Regions from separate parts of the Homo sapiens genome. Here region 1 is linked to region 2. The links are contacts of gene promoters, found by promoter capture Hi-C in human tissues and cell types (Jung and others, 2019). All regions are on one chromosome and are shown on one strand. The core of a region is centred on a gene start or on the middle of the fragment in contact, and the rest is flanking DNA. Distances in the headings are between cores, read along the strand shown. Region 1 has its middle 9.4 kb from the start of AP5B1. Region 2 holds the start of KCNK7 (potassium two pore domain channel subfamily K member 7).

Region 1 (3,569 bases), core at 384-2,883, 180 kb after region 2:
CAGCTTTCTTCTTCTTCATGGCTATTGTTTCAGAGGTTTGTGTGAATTTTCCTTGGTTCATATGTGATGAAATTCATTTTCTGATATTTTGCAATAGCTGTATGAACCTATCTTTTCATTATTCATTTTTGTGGTATTGGGTGTTTTACAAGATCCCTAGATAACACGCCCTCTTCTGGCAACATTGTGAAGTCCAGATGCTTTAGTGAATTTGTTTTTGCAGGGGTGGGGGTTGTGGGCCTTCTTTTTTTTTTTGTCTTGGAGGGCAATTAAACTTCTCCATTTGCCTCTCTCTTCACACCCAAATGCCAAAGGACACTTTTCCTTTCTTTTGTGGGTAGTTGCTCCCCAAGGATCTATGTGTTTCCAAGACTGTGGCTTCACATTTCACGTATAACTTTTTTTTGAGACAAAGTCTCGCTCTGTCATCCAGGCTGGAGTGCAGTGGCACAGTCTCAGCTCACTGCAACCTCCACCTCCTCGGTTCAAGCGATTCTCCTGCCTTAGCCTCCTGAGTAGCTGGGACTACAGGCACATGCCACCATACCTGACTAATTTTGTATTTTTAGTAGAGATGGGATTTCACCATGTTGGCCAGGCTGGTCTCGAACTCCTGACCTCAGGTGATCCACCCGTCTTGGCCTCCCAAAGTGCTGGGATTACAGGCGTGAGCCACCGTGCCTGGCCTCACGTGTACTTTTAAACCTCCCACCTATTGTCCCAGCTCTGACACTACTGCAGACACTTTTGAACATTTTCAGGCTCAAGGTGTACTTAGTGTTTTTGGTGAGGTCTTAGATCAAGCTTAAGCCCCATTACAACTCCCTCCTCTCCTTTGCCCCAGTTTTCCTCAGCCAGTCTTGTGGCAGGTGGGGCTGGAATGGGTGCGTGGGAAGGAAAGTCTGAGCTGCCATTTGTTTTTCCTTTTTCTTTCTTTTCTTCTCTTCTCTTTCTTTCTTTTTTCTTTCTTTCTTGTCTCACTCTGTCACCCAGGCTGGAGTGCAGTGGTGCAATCAAAGCTCAGTACAGCCTGGACCTCCTAGGCTCAAATAATCCTCATATCTCAGCCTCCCAAGTAGCTAGAACTGCAGGTGCACACAACCACACCCAGCTAATTTTTGTATTTTTTGTAAAGACAGGTTTTCACCATGTTGCCCAGGCTAGTTTCGAACTCCTGGGCTCAAGGAATCTGTCCACCTCAACCTCCCAAAGTGCTGGGATTACAAACGTGAGTCACCACGCCCGGCCAGGTAATTTCTATGTTATTTGTTTTTCTTGTTCTTTTTAAGTTTGAGCATTCTTGTCTCCAAGTTATCCTGAGGGCTTGCTGTTGCATAATTTTATCTTTTCTCCTCATTCCATATTGTTTTTCTAGGCGACACTGGGGACCTACAGTGCTACCATTGTCCTCCTACCTGAAAGCCTCTGACAAAATATTGTCTTCCCATTCCATTGAAGGTTCAGAGGCCTCAGTGTCCAAGGGAGAATGCCGCCAGGAATGGACACTGCATAGCTTTTTTTGAACCGGAAGTAAAGGCTGCCCCGCTGTCGCTTTGCCTCAGGACCAAGAGCTCTAAGAGGAAGACTGACCCTGACTGTCCACCGAGAAGCTGTTGCTGCCATACAACGGAGACAAGGAGTCCATCGTATCCAGGGGATCCCCTGAAATATCTCTGAGGATTGCCAGGTTCAGTGACAGTGTTAATGAAAGCCTCAAGTGACTCAATACAAGCAGAATAACCAAGGACTCAGACCCTTCAGGAATGAAGTTTGGGTCACCTCATGAAGTAAAAGAACCAAAGGAACATAGAATGGGTATGGAAGAAAGAAGTTGTAAATATCAATCCAGGGTTAACAGATAAAATACAGGATGCTCAGTGTTAAAAGGAAAACTTTAGCTCAGGTAAGTTTCACAGTGTTTAACTGAGCAAAGAACAATTCAAGAATCAGGCAGCCTCTCATGCCAGAGTGGGCTCAGAGACTCCAGTGCAGCCACGTGGTGGAAGATTTATGGACAGAAAGGAAAATGAAGTACAGAAAACACACGTGAGATATAGAAACCAGCCAGATTGGTTACAGATTGGTGTTTGTCTTATCTGAACACAGTTTGAACAGTTGGCCACCTTTGATTAGCCAAAACTCAGTGATTGCCACAAGCGTTGGCTACAGTCTGTTTACAAGTCCATTTAGGTTATAGTTTACGATGTACAGAGAAACCTTTAGGCCAAACTTAAAATATGTAAGGAGGCAGCTTTAGGCTAAACGAGATTTAACACTGGTTATAGCCCGGGCACAGTGGCTCACACCTGTAACCCCAGCACCTTGGGAGGCTGAGGCGGGTGGATCACTTGAGGCCAGGAGTTGGAGACCAGCCTGGCCATCATGGCAAAACCTTGTCTTTACTAAAAATACAAGAATTAGCCAGGTGTGGTGGCACATGCCTGTTATCTCAGCTACTCAGGAGGTTGAGGCACAAGAATAGGCTGAACCCAGGAGGCAGAGGTTGCAGTAAGCCAAGATCACACCACTGCACTCCAGACTGGGCAACAGAGCAAGACTGTCTCAAAAAAAAAAGAAAAAAACAAAAACAACAAAAAAAACCCACCACTTATATCTGAACCTTGGAGAAACAACTACTGGTTTTTTAGTGTAAGTATGTCCTATTAACAACTAAAAAATTCATTGCTTCTCCAAAATTCAAACTTAAATGCACATCCTATATAATATTTTTATTTGCTAAACCTAGGAACCCTAATTAGGGCCTCGTAACTCATTGCACAAAAGATTCATACTTTCTTCCTTGCATGTAAAATAGAGATTAACCGATATCTTTCCCCATCTTTTCCCTTGTTTCATATAAAGTGTATTATTGATAATTGTTAACGAAAAAAAGAAAAGATACACAATTTATAAATTTTGAGAGGAGACTTTATTTCTTATAAAGGGTTAGGCTGGGCCTGGTGGCTCACACCTATAATCCCAGCACTTTGGGAGGCCAAGGCAGGAGGATCACTTGAACCCAGGAGGCCTTAACCAGCCTGGACAACATAGTAAGAACCCATCTCTACAAAAAATTTTACAAATTAGCCAGGTGTGGTGGCATGCACCTGTAGTCTTAGCCACCCCGGAGGCTGAGGCAGGAGGATCACTTTTGCCCAGGAGTTTGAGGTTGTAGTGAGCTATGATCGCACCACTGCACTCCAGCCTCAGAAAGGGAGTGAGACCTGCTGGGAAGCATGTCTCCAGCCAAGACCAGAGACAGGCACTTCAAAGAAGGAGGGGTTAGGGTAGGAGCTTCATGCTCAATGGATTGACTAAACATACACATTCAACAGGTTACATGAGGAGCTATGAATATTCATGAAAGTGGTTCTGACACATGCATATTGAACAAACATGCATGCAACATACAACCCATGGTCACTTTGGGGTGGAGACTTAACATTTAAATGTATTATAATTAGGCCCTATATGGCAAAAGGTCTTTTCAGGACACAAAGACATGCAAGTGCAGGAGCTCTGTAAGCCAGCCAGAACCAGTCCATGATGGGTAGTCACCTTGTCAGGAA
Region 2 (3,448 bases), core at 895-3,394:
TGGCCACCAGCAGTCCCAGTGCAACTGCCTGCAGCAGCGCAGCCCTGGCCGGTGACAGCTGCCAGTGGACCGCTACCCAGGCACGTGGGCGGCTGAGCACAGGCAGCAGGCAATGGCGCAGGGTGGCCACGAGAGCTAAGGAGGCTGGCAGCCCCAGGGCTGCATAGACCATGCAGAAGGCCTTTCCGCCTGGCGATAGTGGGGCCATGTGGCCATAACCTGGAGAAGAGAGAGTCAGTGGACAGTGAGAGCTCTGAGTGCCATGTCTGCTGGGGTCCCTGCCTACCCCAATACTGCCTTCCGCAGAAGGCTGCCCTCTGGTGGCCTTGAACTGGCCAGGCCCAGGTTCTAGCTGGCTCTGCTCCTCTTCGTCAGGGGATCCCTTACCCTCTCTAGGCCATTCTTTTCTTTTTTGGAAAATGAAAGGATGAAAGAAGACAGTTCCTCAGGCCTTTTGTAGCTGGGACAATTCTGAGAACTGCGCTGCCCTTAACAGATACTCCCGATTCCACAGCTGGTGGAATATCATCCACTCTTTCCCCAAATGTGTGTCATGTCCTGTGTGCCAGGCTTTGTACTGGGATCTGAATCAGCCCAGGCCCTGCCCCTTCTGGTGGGGGAGTCGGGCAGGCAAATCATGAAGGGCTGCAAAGAGGCAGCATGGGCGAGAGAGGGCATGTGCCAGGCGGGGAGGGGTGGGAGTGCGGGGTGTGCTGGGAGAACAGGATCAGCTAATACAGAGCTGCAAACGCACATGCCTACCGGAGCCAGATGGGAGACAAACAGGAGTGGTGGGGACAGGGGTACACTGGAAAGTGTGAGCTGTATCCAAAGGGCAGGCCCCATTCTGCTCCAGTCAGGATGTTGCCTTGCAGGGATTCTGGCTCAGTGTGAGTGGGTTTCCTGATTTTCCAAAAGAAGTTGGAAATATGAGCTGGGCACAGTGGCTCACACCTGTAATCCCAACACTTTGGGAGGCTGAGGCAGGTGGATCACTTGAGGTCAGGAGTTTGAGAACAGCCTGGCCAACATGGCAAAACCCCGTCTCTACTAAAAACACAAAAATTAGCCGGGCATGGTGGTGCATGCCTGTAGTCCCAGCTACTCAGGAGGCTGAGGCAGGAGAATTGCTAGAACCCGGGAGGTGGAGGTTGCAGTGAGCCAAGATCGCACCACCGCACCCCAGCCTGGGTGACAGGGTCAGACACCGTTTCAAAAAAAAAAAAAGTTGGAAATACAAATTCCAATTCAAAAAATACTGAGACACTTTGTGGGGCAAAAAATACGAAAACCCAGGGCTGTGGGTCTCATTGCTGCTTTTCCCTGGGCCTGTGCCCACGCGATTTCTCTGCAGGACTCCCTCATCCCTGTCTGTGCCCTCCTGATCCACAAGCATCTCATGCCGACTTCCTCCCCTATCTTCCCTCACTCCCCCACCCGAGGCCATGGTCCTGATCTGTCCTTCCCAGGTTCATTCTATTTGCTTCCATCCAAGAATCCATCCCACTGTATTGTATCCCCTATCTGGCCACAGGCTGTGGCATCTGGGCAGCTCTCCTGGGTCTCAAAGGGTGCCTGGGGTGGGACTGGGGAGGCCACACCCTTCCTGGCAGTTGAAGTGGAGGCACCAGTTGGGGTGTGTTGGTGGGGAGCCCCAGCTGTGATGTCAGGCCTCACAGGGCCTGGGCTCCATCTGGCTCTTTGGGGCTGAAGGAAGGGCTGCATGAACCCCAAAGCCCCCAGGGAGCCATGGCCTCTTGGAGCCGCACCCCCCGACTTGGCTGCCTGGCTCTCTTACCTGTGGTGGTGAGGATGCTGGCAGCGAAGAGCAGGGCTGAGGGAAGGTCCCAGGTCCTGCCCTCTGAGCTGTTGCCCAGGGTGGAGACCCCATGGGCCTGGGTGGCCAGGGCAGTGCCCAGCAGCTCTTCCAGAGCTCCGGGTGGCAGGCAGGCCCTATGCTCTGCCTGGAAGGCTGCCAGCTCTGCCCTGAGCTCAGCCTGAAGCCTGCATGCAGGAGGCCCCTCCAGGGCCTGGAACACCACAGCCCCAAGCCCCAGGGCCAGCAAGTGGGCCACAACCAGGAGCCCGTATCGGGACCAGGGCCTTAGACCCCCCATGGCAGGCCGCTGGGGTGCTGTGGGAACTGGCGGCTCCACCTCAGGCACCTGGGAGGGGCTGGGCAGGGCGGGGCCAGGAGGAGGTGCTGTGTGGGTGGCTGGGACCCGGCTGGGATGGCTGGGGTGGCTGGGGTGTGAACAGGAGGGAGGTGAGCTGCATCACCCTTCCCAGGTCCTGGAGGCAAGACATTTGCCCATTTCACAGCAGCTGGGATGGTGGGGATGGGTGGAGGAAGGCGGCTGCGGTGAGGGGAGGAGGCGGAGGAAGCTGAAGCCTAGAGAGGACCTCACACTTATTCAAGGTCCTGCTCACTCAGGCACCCATACCACATTCATTCATTCATTCATTCATTCAAGTGCTTAGGGAAGAGGACAGGCACAGGTCCTTTCCTTCCTGGTGTTTACACAAGAAACCTCTTAGCAAAGAAACATGGCAACCTCACATTGTCATGAGTTCCATGAAGGAAACACCCTGGGTGATGGGAGAGCTCTGCGGGGAGCGGGGGGGTTATCTCACTGGGAAAGCTCTGCTAAGGAGGTGATATTTCAGCTGGGGAGTAAGAGGCCAGTGAAGGTAGGAATGAGCTTGGGGTGTGAGAGGAACAGAGGGCTGGCTGTGGCAGGGGAGAGTTGGGGGTGAAGGGGGGATAAGGACACAGGCCCTTGAGGATAAATGTGGTCCAGGGAGACCTACGCTGGGCTACTGTAGGCGTCATGGATGGAGTGATTTTGGCCTGGGTGGTGTGGTGGGAGAGGAATGGTGGCAGCTGGGAAGGATCAGGTGGGGGTGGGAGGTGGGGAGAGGACTCCAGGGTGCCCAGAGCACCCGGGCAGATGATACCCTTGCGCCCGATTGCCAGTTCTTCCTGAGAACGCTTTGTGCCTGCCCTCCTGACTCCCTGCCCCTGAACTGCAGACACAGAGTCTGGGCTGCCATGGGGCACCTGGGAGAGGGGAAGGGGGAGCCTGGGTTCCAACTCCTCTAACGTCAGAGGGGCTGAGGACAGAGGCCAAGGAAGGGACCCAGCCCTAGGGTATGGTGTGGGAGTGCCAGAGCCCCCATGGCAGTGTGAAGAGAATGGACAGAGGCCGAGGGAGGGACCCTGCCCTAGGGTATGGTGTGGGAGTGCCAGAGCCCCCATGGCAGTGTGAAGAGAACTGTCAGGGGTGCCAGATGCCATGGCAAGTCACCATACTGGGAGGTGGGTGGAACTTACTACTCTTTTTTTTGAGATGGAGTCTCGCTCTGTCGCCCAGGCTGGAGTGCAGTGGTGCAATCTCGGCTCACTCAACCTTCGCCGCCCGGGTTCAAGCTATTCTCCTGCCTCAGC

The links. The method cuts DNA at HindIII sites, captures the fragments that hold promoters and counts their contacts. A contact is called where the count stands out against the background at its distance.
Region 1: a contact is called between a fragment that was not itself captured here and the fragment with the promoter of KCNK7 in region 2, in 3 of the 25 tissues and cell types used here (dorsolateral prefrontal cortex, lymphoblastoid cells and spleen).

The regions. Positions count from the first base shown.
Region 1 is chr11:65,769,817-65,773,385 of GRCh38, forward strand. No RefSeq gene overlaps it. Among named protein-coding and RNA genes, the nearest start is that of AP5B1, 9.4 kb to the right of the region's middle. The HindIII fragment of the contact is 6,006 bases long and covers 1-3,569 here.
Region 2 is chr11:65,593,656-65,597,103 of GRCh38, forward strand. KCNK7 (potassium two pore domain channel subfamily K member 7) reads right to left here and starts at 2,145. Exons shown (of 3, transcript NM_033347.2): 1 at 1,799-2,145; 2 at 1-219. The coding sequence starts at 2,117. The HindIII fragment of the contact is 18,543 bases long and covers 1-3,448 here.